6 separate regions of the Homo sapiens genome follow, and regions 1, 2, 3, 4 and 5 are each linked to region 6. Evidence: promoter capture Hi-C in 16 types of primary human blood cells and fetal thymus (Javierre and others, 2016). All regions are on one chromosome and are shown on one strand. The core of a region is centred on a gene start or on the middle of the fragment in contact, and the rest is flanking DNA. Distances in the headings are between cores, read along the strand shown. Region 1 has its middle 8.9 kb from the start of ELOVL7. Region 2 overlaps ERCC8 (ERCC excision repair 8, CSA ubiquitin ligase complex subunit). Region 3 overlaps ERCC8 (ERCC excision repair 8, CSA ubiquitin ligase complex subunit). Region 4 overlaps ERCC8 (ERCC excision repair 8, CSA ubiquitin ligase complex subunit). Region 5 overlaps ERCC8 (ERCC excision repair 8, CSA ubiquitin ligase complex subunit). Region 6 holds the start of DEPDC1B (DEP domain containing 1B).

Region 1 (3,193 bases), core at 265-2,764, 150 kb before region 6:
TCTGACTTTGGTGTTAACAGGGGAACTCTGGTGTCAGAGTGGGGATTGGCTGAAGGGAAGTGCTATGGTCTGATTGTTTGTGTCTCCCCTAAATCCATATGTTGAAACCTAATCACCAAGGTATTAGGAGGTAGGGACTTTAGGAGGTGATAATGTCATGAGAACGGAGTGCTGCCTTTTCCCCTTCCACCACATGAAGACACAGCAAGAAGGCACCACTATGAACCATACAGCTAACTAGTCCTGACCAGGCACCAAATCTGCTAGTGTCTTGATCTTGGACTTCTCAGCCTCCAGAACTGTAAGAAATCAATTTCTGTTGTTTAGAAGCCACCCAGCTTAGTATATTTTGTTATAGCAGCCCAAAGAGACTAAGGGAACAATAAGCAGAATCAAAGAAATCAGTTAAGAGGCTATTGAAATATTCCAAGCAAGAGATGACGGTGGCGGTACCAACATGATGGCAGTGGAGATGGTGGGAAGTGGTTTTAGATATATTTTGAAGAGTTGGCAGAGAGGAAGAGAAGAGTCAAAGATGACTCCAAGGATTTTGGCCTGAGCAACCAAAAGAATAGAGTTGCCATTGAATGAGGTAGAGAAGACTACAAAAAGGGGAAATATCAGTGGCTCTGTTTTGGACATTTAAGTTTGAGATACAAATTATTAATCAAATGGTGAGGCCCAGTGGGCACTCAGATATACAAATCTGGAATTCAAGAAAAAGATACAGTCTAGAAAACACATTTGGGAATCATGACTATAGAGATGGCATTTAAGCCTTTTCTTACTCAGATCACGTGAAGTATGAGTGCAGATAGATGAGAGAAGACAGCTAAGAACAGAACCTTGGAGCACTCCAAAATTTAGGGGTGGAAGATGAGGGAAAAATTGGTGAAGAACCTGAAAAAGAATTTCCAGAAAAAGGAGAAGAGCCAGGCAAGTGTGGTATCCCTGATGTCAAGTGAAGGCAGCATTTCAAGAAAACCGTAATCAACTGTGTCAAATGATGATGATAGGTCAGCTAAGATGAGGACTAAGACGTGACCACTGTCTCATGCTCGCAACAACTACATCACCCCTTAGTCCTGGCAGAGGAGCAAATTTCTCCAGAAAGTTCTTCCCTGCCAGAACCAGTTTGAATTAGGAGTTTCTCTTTAGTGTTCCTTTGGCATACTTTGCTTATCTATATAATAGCATTTAATTATTTTTTAAAAAATGTATTATTGTTTGCCAAGTGCTACTCTAGATGGGCAACTGTTTTTAAAAAAAAGGTCAAAAATTCTCATGAAGCTTTCATTTTAATTGGGGTGTGGAGAGGGGCAGACAATAAACAATATTTCAGAGGAAATGTGTATAGTATGTTAGGTGATAAGTGCTACGTAGAAAAATAATGTAGAAGAGAGGAATAGAGAATGTGAGGAGTTTTAGTTTTAAATAGCATGCTCAGAAAATGCCTCTCTGAGCAAACATCGGGAGGATTTAAAAGAGCAAGTCATGTGGGTATCTGGGAGAAGAGCATTCTAGGCAGAGGGAACAAGCACAGAAGCCCTGAGGCTAAAGCATGCCTGCCGGGTCCAAGAGATAGCAAGGAAATCTGTGTGGGTGTATCTGTCTGAGCAGAAAGGGAGAGTAAAGGAGATAAGGATAAAAGGTAATAGGGAGAGGTGGCAGATCACAAAGGCTCTTGTAGGTCATTGAAAAGACTTTGGCTTATTTTTCAAACAAATGGAAAGCTTGGAGGATTTAGCAGAACGTCCTGAGGTCAGTCTGGTCATTGTTTTGATAATAAACTCTAAGGGCAGAGGACAACAACAGAAGCAGGGAGCTAGTTAAGAGGCTACTGTAATAAGGTAAAGTTAGGAAAACTAGTCCATTAAGGAAGAATATCAAGAGGTTGTCCGCCCTTACCTAGCAAAATATCAAGGAAAGGCCAAAGGAAGAGCTAACCATTTCCTGCTTTCTGCAGGGTGAAACTGTAAATCCTTCTCTGAGTACTATCTTCTCTGAGTATTTTATCACTTGAGGCAGGCTAACAGTTGTAACAGATTAACTACAAAGTTTCAGAGGCTTAATGCACTATAAATTTGTTTATAATTCCTAGAAGATCCTTCCCCTCCACAGGGTAATTTGAGAACACAGAATCCCTTCCATCTTGTGGCTCCACCACATTCAGCATATAAGGCTTCCTTCAGGGTGATGCAGGAGAAAGAACACACAGGATTTCACCTGTTAAATGTGAATGAGCCAGGCCTGGAAGGGACAAGCAACACTTTGCTCGAATTCCATTGGCCAGAATTCACTTTCATGGCCACTGCTAAACTGTAAGGAAGACTGGGAGATATAATCCAGCTGCGTGCCCAGGAGAAAGAGGAAACAAATCTAGTGAATAGCTAGCCATCATCTGCTATAGCTGTGAGTGGGCATGCTTTTCATTTCTACTCAGGAGGCAGAGGTTGCAACGAGCTAAGATCATACCACTGCACTGCAGCTTGGGTGTCAGAGCAAGACCCTATCTAAAAGCAACAAAAACAACAACAACAACAAGTTGGTGTGGTGGCTCATACCCTCATACCTGTAGTCTCAGCTACTCGCCTGAGGATCACCTGAGCCCAGGAGTTTGAGGTTGCAGTGAGCTATGACTACTGCACTGCCCTCTAGACTGGACGACAGAGCAAGACCCTGTCTCTTAAAAATAGGATAGAATATAGAAAAGAATCTGGCCATTTCTATGCCCATCACTGTTTTCCCTTACAATAACTATTTTCTTAAGCTTTCTGAACAAGTCTAATTTTTCCTCATGCTAATCTAGAAAAAAACAGCTGAAACAAATGAGCTGTAACTAAATGACTCACAAACTTTGCTTTGGGGGATATGTCACAGCTCCTTCACTCTCATTTCTTAGAATGCTTTATCTGCACAATTGCTTAAAAATAGATAGGGAACTCATTTTAAATGCATTAAATGGATATATAAAACCAAGAACAACAGAGATAAAAGATACCATTTTTTAAATCACATCCATTTGCAGGGTCAGGTCTTGATGATCTATGCCAAAGAAAAAGAAACATGAGTAATATAAAGCAATTCACAATTTCTTTTCTTCACTTAGGAAGTCAGTCATGGCCAGGCACAGTGGCTCACGCCTGTAATCCCAGCACTTTGGGAGGCCAAGGCAGGCGGATCACGGGTCAGG
Region 2 (3,459 bases), core at 26-2,525, 240 kb before region 6:
CTTGTCCGGGAGAGAGTTGTTGGAAGCCTGGGCCACAGAGTTGCCAAGTAGAATAAAGATAGTGGAGAGATTTGAACAACGTCTGAGAAATAGAATCAACAGGCCATGGAAATTGAGTGGATACGTGAATGACAAAAAGAGAAGAATGAATAATGATTCCCAGATCTATGCCTTGTATAAGAAGTTGAATGTTGGTAATATACTCTGAGAGAGGGTTTTCCAAAGGGAAGAAGCAAGTTGTACTTTTAATTTTGCCCACATTAATTGAGGAACCTGTGAAGATATTTACTTGGAGAACACAGTTGCTTATGAGTTCTGCGTTCTGGAGAAATTTAAATATTAGTTTCCAACATTTTATCCATTACGTTTTCAATGTTGTGAAATATCTCTGAGAGTTCCTTTAATGTGTTTTTTTTGCCAGTGTCACTTCCTCTGACACATCATCAGCCTTTCATCACAATCACTTTTCCTCATTTATGTCTATAAGTTCACCTTCACTGATTTCCTCAGTCTGCATATCTAGAATGTCTCAAATGGCGGCAGTGTCATTGTTGCCACAATCAGCATGTTCCCACAGGCAGCTTTTTTTTCATTTGCTCCATTTATGTTTAATGCAAGTTTCACTTCTAGTATTATCACTCTTCTTTAGTGCACTTTCATTCTTTTGGCCAATTTCCTCTTTTAATCTGTAAAATTCCATGTGGGTTTATCTCAAGGGCACAGAAATATTAATAACAAACCTCCATGCTTTGCAGCCTGTGTGTGAACTGAATAACAGATGCACAGTGACCAATCACCCATAGACTTTGAAAGAAGTAAAATTGCAAATTGGTCAATTTTGATTCATATGTTATTTATGTAATGATTTGTGAACTGAAAAGCTAGTAGCAAACTTTTATGCTATTTCTCACGGTTAATAAACTGTGGTAACTGAAATTCATATCAGACTGTGCCAAGTGAGGATTGCTTATACGTTTAAGACAAATAAAGTATTTAAAAATTAAAAAAATATTTTTTTTTTGAGGCAGGGTCTTGCTCTGTCACCCAGGCTGGAATGCAGTGGTGCAGTTACAGCTCACTGCAGCCTCGACTTTCCAGGCTCAAATGATCCTCCCATCTCATCCTCCTAAGTAGCTGGGACCACAGACATGTGCCCACACACCTAGCTAATTTTTAAATTTTTCGTAGAGATGGGGTCTCCCTATGTTTCCCATTCTGGTCTTGAACTCCTGGGCTGAAGTGATCCTCCTGCCTTTGCCTCCTAAAGTGCCGGGATTATATGTGCGAGCTACCACACAGCCTAAAATTTTTTTAAAAATATTTCCATCATTAAGTGATGTTTTTGCTTAAACAATTATATAGTTCCATTTTATTCATAGGAGATGTCTACTGTTCTTCCTTGTCATCATGTAAGAGCAAAAGGATGAACACTGATATGCAGTGTTCACAGTTTACACCCTCTAAAAAAACATTTTACAACTTTATTGAGGTATAATTGACATGCAATACCCTGCACATTAAATGAGAATATACAATTTGATGAATTTTGACATATATTTACTTTTGAAACCATTACCATAATCAAGAGAACATCCATAACCCTAAAAAATTTTTGACGGTCATTTATAATCCCTGTCTCCCTTCTTTCTCTGCTTTACCCTCTTCCTTCTCTAGAAACTACTAATCTGCTTTAGGTCACTATAGATTAGTTTGCATATCTAGTATTTTATATAAATGGAATCTTTTTTGTCTGGCTTCTTTCACTCAGCATAATTACATTATTTTGAAATTTCTCCATGTTATTGCATGTATCAATTCCTTTTTTTTGCTGTGGAGTATCCCACTGTGCAGATATACCACAGTTTATCTAGTCACTTGTCGATGGACATCTGAGTTGTTTCCAGTTCAGGACTAATACATTTACAGCTGCTCTGAAAATTCATGTATGAGTCATTGTATGAACATATGCTTTTATTTCTCTGAAGTTAATGCATAACAGTGGAGCTACTAGATAAATCCTTTACTTTTTAAGAAACTGACAGTTTTCCAAAAGCATTTTCCAGTCCCACCACTAATAGGTGAGAGTGCTAGCTGCTCCATATTTATGTTTCCCCTTTCCTGCTTTCATTTGACTGTTTGAACATTATTTAGTATTCTATTTTATATACTATGGTTTTGACTATATCTTTTTGTATAATTCTTTAGTGGCTGCTCTAGGAATTATAAAATACTTACTTTTCGTTGTCTACTTCGGATCATTTCATTGTTTTACTGCTTCATTTGGCATATAGAAACCTTATCACCCTTTCCCCTGCACCATATATATATTGTTGTCTTATATTTTATATTTACATACATTATATACTCTATCAGACATTATAATTTTTTCCAACCATCAATCATATTTTAAGGAAAAAAGTAGCCATTATATTTAACCAGATAGTTATTTCTGTTGCTGTCTCTTTATTCCTGATGCCTCAAATTTCCTTCTTATATCTTTTTCTTGTCTCTGAAGAATATAGTTTATCAATTTTTTTAGAGTAGGTCTAATGGTTTCTGAAAAGGAATCTGCAGCCATTCAAATCATTGTTTTCCTATAGGTAATTTATCATTTTTCTCTGGTTGCTTTGAAGACTTCGTCTTTAGTTTTCAGCAGTTTAATTATGATGTGTCTGGTTGCAGATCTCTTTGGATTTATCCTAGTTAGGGTTCATTCTGCTTCTTGAACTTGTAGACTTATATCTTTCCATAAACTTGGGAACTTTCCAGCCATTTTTTCCAATGTTTTTTCAACACTACACTCTTTCTCTTCTCCTTCTAGACCTCCAATGACAAAAATGTTAGTCCTTTTATAATTGTTCCTCTGATCCCTAAGGCTTTGTTCTTTTTCCCTTCGATCTTTTTTCCTCTATATTGTTAGATTGTATAATTTTAATGGATCTATCTTCAAGTTCACAGATTTTTTCCTCTGCCATCTCCAATCTGTTAGTGAATACATTAAGTTAAAATAATTTTATATTGAAAACTAAAATTTCCATTTGGCTTTTATTTATGTCTTCTATTTCTTTGCTGAGACTTTCTGTTTTAACATCTGTTTCAAGTGTGTGCACAATGGCTTACTCAAGCTTTTTTTTTATTTTTAGAGATGAGGCCTCACTGTTTTGCCCAGGCTGGTCCTGAACTCCTAGGCTGAAGCAGTCCCCCTGCCTCAGCTTCACAAGAGTCACTGGGATTACAGGCTCGGGCCACCATGCCAGTGTTGCTCAAGTTCAAGCATTTTACAATGGTTGCCTTGAAGTCTTTATCAGATAATCTCAACACTTGTGTCATCTCAGCTTTGGCTTGTTTTGTTTGTCTTTTCCCATGCAAGTTGAAATTTTCACGGTTCTTTATATGCAGGGAAATTTTGGATTTGCATCCTGGACATTTTGAATACTCTGGGTCTTGTTTTGATCCTAT
Region 3 (3,274 bases), core at 505-3,004, 200 kb before region 6:
CTGAAGAGGTATGAAGGTTAGGAGCTAGGTGCTGGTTATGCTTGGGTGGATTTTACATTTTTCATGCTTAACTTGGTTTTCATCAGATAAGAGGAGAGCTAAGAAGCTTTCAATTATAAGAATACTCCAGGAATTTGAATCAGTACCACAATGGACCTAGTAATCAGTGTTAAAAGTTGGATATGTTCAAATCTAATCTGTTTCAGAAGAGACTTAAATCCTCATACTGATTTCATTTCCTTCACCTGGAAAGAAAGAAAACCAACTTAAGAATGGGTAATGCTAGTTTTTTGCTAACTATTCCAGTTGGCTAGGTTTGATGGTCATCTGTGAAAAGAATCGAGGTTATAGAAACCAGTAAACCTTGTGTGTATATTTTTTTAAAAAAATTAAATAAAAAATAGGCTTATAAAAATGTAATGCTCTCTCTTATTAAAATGGCATTGATAAGCCCCCTGGGTTACAATATTGTTGAGGTCCTTGTGAGGACATGATAGCATCAGTTGAACTGATTAGGAGCACGTCGGATTGCCAGGCATTTTTCTTTAGAAATAATCTAGAAGCTGAAATAGATGTCTGATCATAGATTTGCCTTTCTTCTTTTTGCTTACTTGAAAGAAAATGAAAGTAAGTGTCTAATTTCTAGGAGACATTAAATATAGTTCTCATATATCTGGCAAAGATTGATTTGAGTATAGGAAACCAAATGGAAATGCATTGTCCTCATTATTCACCTTACACTTACCGTTTTTTATATAAAAAGGAAAAAAACACCAAATCATACCAAATGGATTCTTGAGCAAAGTGAAATTAGTTAATTGCTTGTCTTGACAGCATTTGGATAACAAGCAGTAGAAAAGGTATGGTAAGGAACTTACTTGGAACAAGCTACAAGCCTTTCTGGTCCTTGGGAGAAAAGATGCTCATGTAATTTAAAACAATATAAAAAGCAGCAAAATTTTGTTCTTGTTATCTGGAAAAGAAAGGTTACTTTTTTTTTTTGCTATTTACTCACTTATTTGAGCTACTGTTGACTATTGAATATTTGCTGAAAAGGCAAAAGTTCAACAACCCTAATGTATGAATACATATGTACCTATATAACGAGACCTCTGTGTGCCATAAAATTAGAAAGGTGGGTGAGGGGTACAGTCATTGTCCTAGCTACATATGTCAATGTAACATTTATTTCTTCTCAGTGCTGACAGTAGAGTAAAATTATGGGATGTGAGAAGAGCATCAGGATGTTTGATTACTCTTGATCAACATAATGGGAAAAAGTCACAAGCTGTTGAATCAGGTAAGGAAGAACGCATTAATAAATATGACAATGATAGTATTTTTTTACATTGAAAATTTTTAATTGAAGCCACATAATAAACGCATATTGACAAATTGCAAACTTTATGATTTTTCAAAAGGCATTCATCGTATATCACTTTCTTAATTTACATAAACTAAATTATGATTCTCTTTCTTTAAGATACAAATAAAAATGGCAGTTTCATTTGCCCCCAAATTTTCAAAAGTAGAAATTTTTGTGAATTAACTTGCTTTACTTGTTTTGTTTTTGCTCCATTGAGGCCAACTATACATATTCAATGCCATTTAAAAAGTCACAATAAATTACAGAAATAGTAACATTTTGTGGCCATTGTATCAACATAAAATTGTGTTAAATGTGAGTCAGCTGCAATCCATGTGACAAAGTACCTAAACTGCATTTTTACAGTAGAATTTAATTCCTGTGTAGAAATTTTGATAGAGAATTAATTCTGGACCAGAAATATATTAGAATGAACTATATAAAACCTATAATTGTTTTATGTAATTTCTTAACAACTATAGTTTTATGTAGTTTCTACATAAAACTATATAAAACAATCACAAAGTTTAAAAACTATATAAAACAATCATAGGTTTTATATAGTTCATTCTAATATATTTCATATATTAGAATTTATATAGTTTTTTAAAAAACCTTATGAAACATGTAAACTATATAAAACATGTTTTATATGTTTTTAAATTAATTAGGCTATTTTAGAATTATGCTTTCTCAAACTTGTTAATTTTGTAAGTGATATAAATTTTGAGACTACAACAGTCATCCTTTCCCTGTTTTTTTTTTCAATGGAAAACACTAGAATTATTGATTTTAATAGTCCATAGAATGATTTTTAGGTTAGCAATAAAAATATATGAGAGATGAAAGGCATTTAATTTTAAATTTTAGTGTTAAGCTACACATTTAATTGAATTTCATGGCACAATTTCCTTGCTGGAAAAGAAAAGTATGTTAGGCAGAAATTTTTTCCCTTTTTTTTTTGTTTTCCTCTATTTTTATGGTTCTGATTTATATAGCTTATCCTATTCAAATAATCTGAAGGGTTGGTTAAGTATAATCTACTTACATTTTTTAAGTAACTCAAGTAGTTGTCCTTTAATATGTTTAATTATATCATCAAACATTAAATATGTCCTGAATACAAGAACAGATAAACTGAACTATGTTTTTCATTGCAGCAAACACTGCTCATAATGGGAAAGTTAATGGCTTATGTTTTACAAGTGATGGACTTCACCTCCTCACTGTTGGTACAGATAATCGAATGAGGCTCTGGAATAGTTCCAATGGAGAAAACACACTTGTAAGAGATTTTTAAGTATATATTTGGGTATAAATTAAGAAATGGATCTGTGACATACACTTGATTTTTTTATATATTTAACTCATTTATTCCCTTTTAATCACAGCTGTTTTTAAAAATGTGTTTCTACTATGTGGACTAGTAATTCTCAACTCAGGACAACCCACCCTTACCCACTACCTACCACATTCTCCCTACTTAGCAGAGAATCACTGTTCTACTGAGCCACTGTTCTCAATGGGAGTGCAAAGCGTAGTAGAGAAAAATAAAAGACTGAGGACTACTGATATAAATTAAAGATATGAAGCTAAGTAATCAAATTTTATATAGGTTGAGTATCCCTAATCTGAAAATCTGAAATCTGAAATGTTCCAAAATCTGAAACTTTTTGAGTGCTAGCATGACACACAAAGGAAGTGCTCATTGGAACATTTCAGATTTTGAATATTCAGATTAGGGATGTTCAGGCAGTAAAGCAAATATTCTAAAATCCAAAATACTTCTAGTCCAAATCATTTTGGATGGGGATACTTAACCTGTACTATATATGACTTATAAACAAAATTTACAGTGAATTTTATAGTACCAGAATATGTAGTACTTTATTTAATACTACTGCAATA
Region 4 (3,436 bases), core at 624-3,123, 220 kb before region 6:
TATGGCAAGAAAAGCAACGTTTCATGAAGATTAATTACGAAGCAAAAGTGTTTTGGGAATTGGTTGTAGTATACATGTAACTCACAACTGTGTCCAAACATTTTATCAATCTAAATAAAAGTTGTAGTTGTTAAAATTTACAAATATTTCTCTATGTACACAATTAGAGTAACTGAACTACAAAATGTAATAAAGCTAATGTGGAATATTTTTTAAAATAACTAAGTAGGGCATTATTAGCAGTCTTTCTTTACTGCCCATCAATTGGATTTTTGAGCCTTCAAATAACTACTTTTAAATTAACCCTATTGTTTTATAAATTGGTATTGAATTTATCTTAAAAACAAGTCTATAAATCAATACATGCTACTAGTTCATGAACTATTTGTGACTGGGTCACAAGATAAGGATCTTGTGCTAAAACATAAATCTACTACATCATTACACACACCATTTAAAGGAGCTAAGACATGTTTGTAACAAGACATTCTCAGTGAAGAAAGACGTGTGTTTGTTTCTGGTACAAGCTCCTTATCTTGGAGAGTTAAATAGCACTGCCTCTACATTTAATTGTATTTTGTTCAAAATCAGATGAAAATCTTTCAATCAAAATACTCAGTGAATGTAGTGCCAAAAACTGTAGTTTGGGTGCCATTCTTGAAAGATGACAGGCCGGGTGCAGTGGCTCACACCTGTAATCCTAGCACTTTGGGAGGCCGAGGCGGGCGGATTACCTGAGGTCAGGAGTTCAAGACCAGCCTGGCCAACGTGGTGAAACCCCGTCTCTACTAAAAATAGAAAAAATTAGCCAGGTGCAGTGGCGCGTGCCCGTAATCCCAGCTACTCTGGAGGCTGAGGCAGGAGAATCACTTGAACCTGGGAGGCAGAGGTTGCAGTGAGCCGAGATCATGCCACTGTACTCCAGTCTGGGCTACAGAGCGAGACTTCTTCTCAGAAAAAAAGAAAGAAAGATGACAATGTCAATGCAGTTTTTAATGTTCCTCTAGTTCTCCATTAAAACACATAAAGAGACTAAAAATGGCAAATAGGAAAAACCAGATTAACACTTACAACCAAACTAGGTCATGAAGTATCCCTACAAACCCCAAACTGTGAATAAGTGGGAACAAACCACTGACAACTAAAAGATCTGTGCACTACCAGCATTTTTGCTAGAGGAGGCAGTAAAAAGCGATAAGGCATCTGATATACCTGGATAAGTCCAAAGTAACCAACAGGTTGGTTGAAAACTTAGCAAGCAAATTTGACTACAGCAGCTCAAACTGGGAGAAGATGGCATACTCTAATTGTAGATATGTTTGAGTGGCCCATGGTAAGACCAGAAGGAGCTATAGCAGTCTGGACTCTAATATCTTTCCAAAGAGCTAACCAGTCAAAGTGCGCCCCCAGTACAGAACTATATACTGAGGAAAACTGCTGGAAATAGAATCCAAATTGAGCAGTACAGAGACAATAGAAACAAAGGAAAAAGATGTCCCCGATAAAATTGGAAAGGTGAACAGAAACAGGAAATCTCTGAAAGTAAGCTTCCATATTTTGAAATCTTACCCCCCAAAAAAAATTTTTAAGGGAAGAAGAGGATGTTTTAATATATAAAATTTAAACATTATTGTAAGTCAAGCCTCCATTCTAAAAGGTTAAGAAAATTAATTTTACATAAAAATGAGCAAAGGAATAGGATTAAGGTCAAAGTTCCTACAAAATCATTATAAAAACAAAGAGAATAAGAAGTGGACTAAAGCTGCTACAGATAGTGAAGTCACACCGGAAAGAAGTATCTATAAAACAGATGAGAACTCTAACCTAATATTTCAAAACTAGGTAAAAGTTGTTTTATAAACATATAATAAATGAGAGAATAATGTTAAGTTATTAGAAAACCTCAGAAATGAGATGCTCAAACTCAGAAAATTAGAAATAAAAATATTTCAGAAATGAAGACTGACTAAAACTTAAAGAACACAAATAAATGGAAGAGGTAATGCCTTAGAAATAGAAACTAGAAAGGAGGAAAATTTTAAAAGCCAAAAAGAAATGAACAGAGGAAAATAATTCAAGAGGTGTATATATAGAACATAGGCAAAGAAGATCCAGCATAACATATGATAGAAGTTCCCAAAAAAGAAACCAAGGCAAAAGAGCAGAATAAATATTAAAACAATAATTCAAGAAAGCTTTTCTAGGATAAATAAGATCTGGAACTTTATATAAGAGGGGGGGATTTATATTGTCACTAGACTTTGACTTTGGGCTTTCTGGCAGAAGAAATGAAGCTTCTTATCCAAGATGCTCAAGGAAATAAAATGTGAGTCAAGGATTTTATATCCAGCCAAACTGATTTCAGATACAAAAAGGACGGATAAATTGTCAACAACACAAGAATTCAGAGACTGTTGTTCTCATTAGCCATTCCTTAGGAATCAACCAGAGAATGAAATCATTCAACCAGAATGACAAGAGAGACAGCAACTTAAGGATTGACGGTGAGCAATAATATTAGCAGATAGCAACACTTTATATAAATGTATAAATTGATGGATCTAGATATTGGTTTGTCTGCTAATATCACATCACAACAAAGAGCAATGGGAAATAGAAATTATTTTAAATTATAGCACATGAATGCAGTCACCAAAGTCCAGGCTGGAAATTACAGGACAAATGATCTGGTTTTTGCAACAAATAAATTACAAGAGAGGGGAAAAGTACAGGAGGGAGGAAGAAAGGTAGAGGAGACCTATAGCTTAAAGTTAAAAGACATTAAAATTTTTTTAAAAAGCAAAGCTAATATTCATGTGTACACTCTAAGGTGATGAACTATGAACTATACAGAAGAGAAAGACAGTGACTACGATAAAAATCATGATAATGAGTTACTTTGAGGTGAAAAGGAAAGAGTGATGATGTAGAGAGATTGCATTGTTTGGATCTCTGTGAAGAATTTTTGATGGTTCCCCTATTTTTGATTGGGATAAATGTATATTTGTAATTGGGATAAATGTATATTTTGTAATGGAATAACATTCACAATGTCTAAGATTTTATAATATTTAAATTTGGTGTAACTTCCAAAAGAGACATAAAGAATTTGTTCAAGGAGAATTTTGTCTTGTAAAAAAATAAGTATACTAAAGAAAGGTACTTTGAATTAAGGTAAAAACAGTGAAAATAACCTGAAATATTTGCACATTTCAAGAATATCCTCCATTTTGCAGAATTTTCTCTGAACTTATCATATACCTCATCAACTATTGTTATTTCCTAAATTAAACATTATGGCTTTTAGGGAAGTCAGTTAAAGGTGTCAACAACTCCAGATTTAAAGATGATTTTTAGACAATTTTATGCCAAAAAAACTAATAAGATCATATTGAAAAATCCCATTTAAAAAAACACAGTAACAGTATTAGAGACA
Region 5 (3,663 bases), core at 828-3,327, 180 kb before region 6:
ACATACTTAGTCTTTAGCTTCAGGAAACTGGGTTTGAATCCCAGTTCTGCCATTTATTCTACTTATGATCTGGGACAAGCTTATAATATTTCCAAATATCAGAATTGTCTAATCAAAGTTATTCTTAGGTTTCCTTTCAAATGCATTCTTCAGATGAGAGTTACCTCCCCATCAATCAAGATGTAATCCCTTAGGGGTGTTTCTCCTGATATCCAAAGTAGAAGATGAATTTAATTCTATCTAAAGAAAGGAAGAACACTGGATGATAGGGACAGGATTTATGGTCTTTAACTATAAATCCTTTTATTTAGTTGGCAGACTGTTTTATTATATTTTGAGGAATCTGGCTTCCTTTTGACCCTCCTTTCTAAAAGCTGGTCTGGTCAAGACAAGCCTATCTATAACTCCTAATTACTTTTTCCTGCCTGAGATCTATAGGGCAGGTTTATTCCAGTTTAAACCTGACCTCTCACTAAGAATCTTACTTTGTTTTGACATTCACACAATACATAACTGTTTTACATATCACTTGTGTCAATGTATAATCACTTGCTGACAACCTGAGAGTTGCCACTAATTACCAGTCAGAAATTTGAAAGTTATCAAGAAATATCCTTGTAGATGTTAAGTTTGGTTCTATTCCTTCTCTAAACTCATAACTAGGTCCCCTCTAAACTCATGCTTCATTATTTCTATAACATTGACACTATCTGTCAGTAGAATTGACAACCTGGTGAGATATAGATGAATATGTTCAAGCACAGACTGCATGTCCACTAGGAGGAGATGTTGCAGAGAAAACTGAAATAATAGTAGTGACACTTGATCAGTGGGTCTCAAATGGTAATGTGTACCACATCCATCTACAACATTTTTACTGCTGCTTTATCATACTACCAGTATAATATTTATTTGTGATTGTTTTGGCAATAAAATGTATTTCTAAAATACTGTAATGCATTCATATATCATTATTTCACTGAAAAGTGAAATAATTTGTATGCAACTGATTATGATTTTCATTTATTTTTGTTTCTTTGCTTACCATACAAAAATAATTTATGATGAAGTATAATTTTGCTTTTCTGTTGAGTTTTCAACTGAAATTAAAATTTTTAATAGGTTACACACTGGGCTTCCATAGTAGGATTAGGAAGCATGGCCCTCATGTGGCTTATCCACCTACAGACATGTGTGTGTGTGTGTGTGTGTGTGTGTGTGTGTGTTTTCCCAGGGCTATTTTTGGTAGTTATCAAAGGCAAGTTAAAGGCTTCTAGAGACAGAGTAGGGAAGAGGAGTCAGCTAACCCCCAATGACAAGATGTCTTTTAATAAACTCTCACTAAATAACCTAATTTAATAGTCAAATTGACAACCCAAAAAGACAGGAAATTCAGTAAACATTTGGATGAAAGACAAAATGAACAGACTTCAGTATACAACTGTTGCAAATAAGTGTACCGTGGCTAGAAATCAGTGAGTAGTTACCTGAGGTTTAATAATAGTTTCGTGCCCAGGAGTGGTGGCTCACGCCTGTAATCCCAGCACTTTGGGAGGCCAAGGCTGGCAGATCACAAGATCTGGAGTTCAAGACCAGCCTAGCCAATATGGTGAAACCCCATCTCTACTAAAAATACAAAAATTCGCCGGTGGCATGCGCCTGTAGTCACAGCTACTTAGGAAGCTGAGGCAGAAGACTCACTTGAACCTGGGGGGCAGAGGTTGCAGAGAGCCAAGATCATGCCACTGCACTCCAGCCTGGGTGACAGAGCAAGACTCCATCTCAAATAATAATAATAATAGTTTCGCTTCTGGACATTTGGAGTATAGCTGACATTAAGTTTAATAATGTAATCTGTTTAACAATAAAGAATGCCTAAATTAATATATTGTTTTCCAGCTCTTCTAGCTGATACTTGGAAAATGTACTAGGAACACGTAACTTTTTCTACTGTTTTCATTGATTGAATTCTAAGATTCAAAGTTATCATATTCATCAAAAGGAAAATGAACATTCTCAGACATGCAGTAGGGGTTACCATTAAAAAATGTTTCTAAGCCGGGCGCAGTGGCTCACGCCTGTAATCCCAGCACTCTGGGAGGCTGAGGTAGGCAGATCACGAGATCAGGAGATCGAGATCATCCTGGCTAACACGGTGAAACCCCGTCTCTACTAAAAATACAAAAAACTAGGTGGAGCCAAGATGGCCGAATAGGAACAGCTCCAGTCTGCAGCTCCCAGCGTGAGCAATGCAGAAGACAGGTGATTTATGCATTTCCAACTGAGGTACCAGGTTCATCTCACTGGGGAGTGTCGGACAGTGGGTGCAGGACAGTGGGTGCAGCGCACTGAGCATGAGCCAAAGCAGGGTGAGGCATCGCCTCACCTGGGAAGCACAAGGGGTCAGGGAATTCCCTTTCTTAGTCACAGAAAGGGGTGACAGACGGCACCTGGAAAATCGGGTCACTCCCACCCTAATACTGCACTTTTCCAATGGTCTTAGCAAACAGCACACCAGGAGATTATATCCTGCGCCTGGCTCGGAGGGTCCGACGCCCACAGAGCCTCGCCCATTGCTAGCACAGCAGTCTGAGATCAAACTGCAAGGCGGCAGCCAGGCTGGGGGAGGGGCGCCCGCCATTGCTGAGGCTTGAGTAGGTAAACAAAGCGGCTGGGAAGATCAAACTGGGTGGAGCCCACCACAGCTCAAGGAGGCCTGCCGGCCTCTGTAGACTTCACCTCTGGGGGCACGGCATAGCCAAACAAAAGGCAGCAGAAACCTCTGCAGACTTAAATGTCCCTGTCTGACAGCTTTGAAGAGAATAGTGGTTCTCCCAGCACGCAGCTGGAGATCTGAGAACAGACAGACTGCCTCCTCAAGTGGGTCCCTGATGCCGAGTAGCCTAACTGTGAGGCACCCCCCAGTAGGGGCAGACTGACACCTCACAGAGCCAGGTGCACCTCTGAGACAAAACTCCCAGAGGAACGATCAGCTAGCAACATTTGCTATTCACCAATATCCACTGTTCTGCAGTCTCTGAGCTGATAGCCAGGCAAACGGTCTGGAGGGGACCTCCAGCAAACTTCAACAGACCTGTTGCTGAGGGTCCTGACTGTTAGAAGGAAAACTAACAAGCAGAAAGGACATCCACACCAAAACCCCATCTGTACGTCACCATCATCAAAGACCAAAGGTAGATAAAACCACAAAGATGGGGAAAAAACAGAGCAGAAAAACTGGAAACTCTAAAAGTCAGAGCACCTCTCCTCCTCCAAAGGAACGCAGCTCCTCACCAGCAACAGAACAAACTGGATGGAGAATGACATTGACGAGTTGAGAAAAAAGGGCTTCAGACGATCAAACTACTCCGGGCTAAAGGAGGAAGTTTGAACCCATGGCAAAGAAGTTAAAAACCTTGAAAAAAAATTAGACAAATGGCTAACTAGAATAACCAATGCAGACAAGTCCTTTAACGACCTGATGGAGCTGAAAACCATGGCACGAGAACTACGTGATGAATGTTCAAGCCTCAGTAGCTGATTTGATCAACTGGAAGAAAGGGTATCAGTGATGGAAGATCAAATGAATGAAATGAAGTGAGAAGAGAAGTTTAGAGAAAAAAGAATAAAAAGAAATGAACAAAGCCTCCAAGAAATATGGGA
Region 6 (3,487 bases), core at 919-3,418:
CTTTTTCTAATTACAAAAGCAATATATATGTATCATCTCAGGACATTTCTTGGGCTAAATAAAAACCTAAGGCAGCAAATGGGTGGTGGTAGTGGTGTGGTTTTGAGGATGAGAAGAGGTGGTCCAATCCCTTACTTAGATCTTTCTTATGATGTTATAGGGGAGCCAGAGATCACCTCCAAGCTCCCTTTTACCTCTTAATGAGCTCTCCAGTTGTATCTAGAAACCACACTGACACCAGGAAGATTACCAGGAGAAAAGTATACACATTTTATTAGTTTTATGTGCACATGGGGATCTTCACAAGAGAGTGAAGTCTGAAGAAGTGGCCAAAGTAAGATGCTTTTATTCATTTTTTTAGGTAAAGAGAGATAAATTTGAGAAGAAAAGCCATGACAAAGAAAATCTGGTTAAGGTGTTACAGTAGGTAGCTAGTCAGGCATGAGCAGGGCAGGAGAGGGCTCCCCCTCATACACACACACATCAGGAATGTCAGGCAGCCATCAGGTGATGGTCAGGTGGTTGTTAATTGTCTCTCTAAAATAATAGTTGGTCACAGCCGGCACCAGGGAAAGGCAGTCTCCTAATAGAAAACACTTGAACTGTTGATCAGCAGCTTCCCGATAAGATCTTAGGAGTTGGGCAAGTGGGCTCAAGTATGCGCCTGTGGACAGCTCACTCTAAGGGAAGAATCAGGAGAGAAGTAATGCAAAGCCCCAAAAGCAAGACCCCAGAAGTATGCCAACGTATAAAACCCCAGGTCAAAAGGTCAAACTACGCACTAGATCTCTCAAGTCACTGGCTTGGCCCTCTTCCAAGTGTACTTCCTTTCATTCAAAGCTTTTTAATAAACTTCACTTCTGTTCTAATACTTGCCTTGGTCTCTCCTTTTGCCTTATGCCCCTCAGTCGAACTCTTTCTTCTGAGGAGTCAAGAATTGAGGTTGCTGCAGATCTGTAGGAATTCACTGCCTGTAACATACTTTGGGGCCGTGTCTCGGATATGGGCAGCTGCTAACATATTTTGGTGCCCTGTGACTCGAGTTAACTTCCACAGCTCACAAAGGCAGTAACATTTTCTAGGGAGTCACTAGAAGATATATGTAAAAAATCTCCTATATCTCCTAGTGGAAGATAGGGTTACTTCGTTAAGAATGTTTATTCAGGTCCACTGCAGCCTTCAATTCCAAGCCTTTGGTGATAAAGGCTATTTTCTCACCGTGGTAGGGAGAGGATGCCCATCCCAGAGAAATCTTTGTGGCCTGCTGCATCGAAGAGGCAGGTCAGCTTGCCCTTTCTGAAACTACCATTTCTCCAATGTTTTCCGCTCGAAATAATCAATATACCAATTAGGCATATTTTGGAATGGCACACCTTCACTCCTTCAACGTCTTGTCCTGGGTACTTACCGAGATGACCAAATTTGAGTAGGTGTACAGAGTCCTAAGTATATGGAGTTACTTCATTTGTCCCTCTGAAAGATTGCAAATCGGACTAGCAATTCCCAGGGGGAAAATTCTAAGCAGTCAAAAAAGGACTCACAACCCTATTGCCGAGGACTAAAAGTATCAGCCCAATACAAAACATAGAACTCAAATTAAAGGGGAAAAGACTATCATGAGAACAAACAGAAGAGGAATCGGGGCTCCCTTCCCGCTCTTTATTGCCCTTAACACACTGTCTACGCTCCTTGTGCTCTCTATCCCGTTTTTAAATGTCCCTACACTGGTAAAAGCTGTCGCCTCGCTTCATTTCACTACCGCTTCTCCCAGCGTTAGCAGCACCTCCAGGCTCACAGTGCACTTGGTAGGGAGGACAGGTATTTATCCACGCGGCCCAAAGCTGGGTTTCGGTCGCTGGATAACACCTATTATTGACCCTTTTGTAGAGATAGCGTTGCGTGTGTTTGTGTTGCGCGGACGCAGAAATCTGGGAAGGGCGCTGCACAGCGTTTTCCAGCGCTGGGGAGACGCCCCCGGCCCCTTAGTCGCACCTGCCTAGGTGTGCTCGCACGGTGGGACCAGGGTGGGCAACAGATTTCGCCCCGGGCAAGTTCGCACGCGGAGCTCCCAGCGCCGCGGGTCTCGGAGAAGACGCCTGCCTCCCCGCGCATTTCCGGTGACGTGCTGCCGCGCCGCCCAATCAGCGCCCGCAGCCCGCGGGCTTGGGATTCAAACTGCTGCTCCTCCGGCTGGCGGGGATCAGCGCTGGCGCGGCTGCGGCCGCTGCTGCCTACGCGCCATGGAGCATCGCATCGTGGGGCCCGGGCCGTACCGAGCTACCAGGCTGGTGAGTGAGTGTGCTGGGGCCTGGGCGGAGCACCCGGTGCCGCGAGCCCCCACTCAGCGCGCGGACAGAGTGCTTGTCAGTCTTCGCTTCCGCAGGCCAGCGGGGCTCGGGTGTGGAGCATTTCAGCTGGGACTACTGGGGCTGCCTTTTAGTGGACGAGCCTCAAAGAAAGGCTAACGGGGCCCAGAGCTCAGCCGGCCGGGGGTTAGTGCAGCTTTGTCCATGAGATGTTGACTGGGTTCTCGGCAGTAGATGGCGCCTCTCTGTTTAAAGACCCCAAGACCAGGCTGTTCCCTGCCTTTTGTCCTCTGGAATCTAACCGACCCGGTCGGTAACCTGAGGGGCCACCACGTACCCCGTAACGCTCAGCGTTCGCGGCAGTCCAGGCAGGGCGTGTCTCCTTCCTGAGTGACACCTGATGATACCTGACGGGGTATTCGAATAAACGGTGCCCAGAACAGAGGGGCATCGCGCTGGCCGCATTTCCGGCCCCTGGCGTTTCTGTTTCTGTCAGCACCGATCCAGATGAAGAGCTGGCCAGGACAGATGTTTTAGGAGAGTCTTTGCCGACTCTGAGTTCCTGTTTTTTTTTTTTTTTTTTTCTGGGAGAAAAGCTTTGGTATTGAGGTGTACTTGGTCTGCTTTGACTTGGAACAATAAAGGGTGACAGTTTGGTAATGTCTGTGGCAAGTTTTTAGAGGACTTTCTGTGGAAGTGTAATGGTAATTTGGGAGGACAGTAACTTGCTCCTTGGTCTGCCGACCTCTCTGGCCACATTTAACATGGGAATTACTCTCATAGTTCCATGCATTATAATGAATACACAGGAAAAGATGGGAACTAACATCCAAACTCTTACTCAGCTAGACTCATGGAAGAGGTGAGGATGCTGGGATACAGATAATGTAAATAGAGTTTCCTTTTCTTTCCAAAGCCAGCCACACACTATACCAGTAAGTCAAGCCAGAGCTGAGAAGGCCAGCTTCTGGAAGAGAAATCATAGTTGGGGCTGATGGGTCTTTACTTTTTAAATTTGGCTCATAGATCGCTTTGAGAATCTGATGAAGATTAAGGATCTTCTTCACAGAAAACTGCACATGGCACATACTCATGAAATTTTACATGATTTAAGGGGATGGATCGCTTGAGGTCAGGAGTTCGAGACCAGCCTGGCCAACACAGCAAAACCCCGTCTGTAC

The links. The method cuts DNA at HindIII sites, captures the fragments that hold promoters and counts their contacts. A CHiCAGO score of 5 or more calls a contact.
Region 1: a fragment that was not itself captured here is called in contact with the fragment with the promoter of DEPDC1B in region 6 in 1 of 17 cell types (megakaryocytes); the score reaches 5.5 in megakaryocytes.
Region 2: a contact is called between a fragment that was not itself captured here and the fragment with the promoter of DEPDC1B in region 6, in 2 of 17 cell types (fetal thymus and megakaryocytes). The highest score is 5.2, in fetal thymus.
Region 3: a fragment that was not itself captured here is called in contact with the fragment with the promoter of DEPDC1B in region 6 in 1 of 17 cell types (megakaryocytes); the score reaches 5.0 in megakaryocytes.
Region 4: a contact is called between a fragment that was not itself captured here and the fragment with the promoter of DEPDC1B in region 6, in 1 of 17 cell types (megakaryocytes). The highest score is 10.3, in megakaryocytes.
Region 5: a contact is called between a fragment that was not itself captured here and the fragment with the promoter of DEPDC1B in region 6, in 1 of 17 cell types (megakaryocytes). The highest score is 6.1, in megakaryocytes.

The regions. Positions count from the first base shown.
Region 1 is chr5:60,851,531-60,854,723 of GRCh38, reverse strand. No RefSeq gene overlaps it. Among named protein-coding and RNA genes, the nearest start is that of ELOVL7, 8.9 kb to the right of the region's middle. The HindIII fragment of the contact is 443 bases long and covers 1,293-1,735 here.
Region 2 is chr5:60,940,833-60,944,291 of GRCh38, reverse strand. The region is part of intron 1 of ERCC8 (ERCC excision repair 8, CSA ubiquitin ligase complex subunit); the gene reads left to right. Among named protein-coding and RNA genes, the nearest start is that of ERCC8, 2.5 kb to the left of the region's middle. The HindIII fragment of the contact is 3,704 bases long and covers 1-3,127 here.
Region 3 is chr5:60,897,653-60,900,926 of GRCh38, reverse strand. It overlaps ERCC8 (ERCC excision repair 8, CSA ubiquitin ligase complex subunit), which reads left to right. Exons shown (of 12, transcript NM_000082.4): 8 at 1,200-1,300; 9 at 2,527-2,651. Among named protein-coding and RNA genes, the nearest start is that of ERCC8-AS1, 18 kb to the left of the region's middle. The HindIII fragment of the contact is 3,291 bases long and covers 109-3,274 here.
Region 4 is chr5:60,923,359-60,926,794 of GRCh38, reverse strand. All of the region lies in intron 2 of ERCC8 (ERCC excision repair 8, CSA ubiquitin ligase complex subunit), which reads left to right. Among named protein-coding and RNA genes, the nearest start is that of ERCC8-AS1, 7.9 kb to the right of the region's middle. The HindIII fragment of the contact is 648 bases long and covers 1,550-2,197 here.
Region 5 is chr5:60,880,534-60,884,196 of GRCh38, reverse strand. All of the region lies in intron 11 of ERCC8 (ERCC excision repair 8, CSA ubiquitin ligase complex subunit), which reads left to right. Among named protein-coding and RNA genes, the nearest start is that of ERCC8-AS1, 35 kb to the left of the region's middle. The HindIII fragment of the contact is 3,991 bases long and covers 82-3,663 here.
Region 6 is chr5:60,698,847-60,702,333 of GRCh38, reverse strand. DEPDC1B (DEP domain containing 1B) reads left to right here and starts at 2,168. Exons shown (of 11, transcript NM_018369.3): 1 at 2,168-2,288. The coding sequence starts at 2,241. LOC124900982 (a long non-coding RNA gene) reads right to left here and starts at 2,094. Exons shown (of 2, transcript XR_007058779.1): 1 at 1,993-2,094; 2 at 247-680. The HindIII fragment of the contact is 2,062 bases long and covers 843-2,904 here.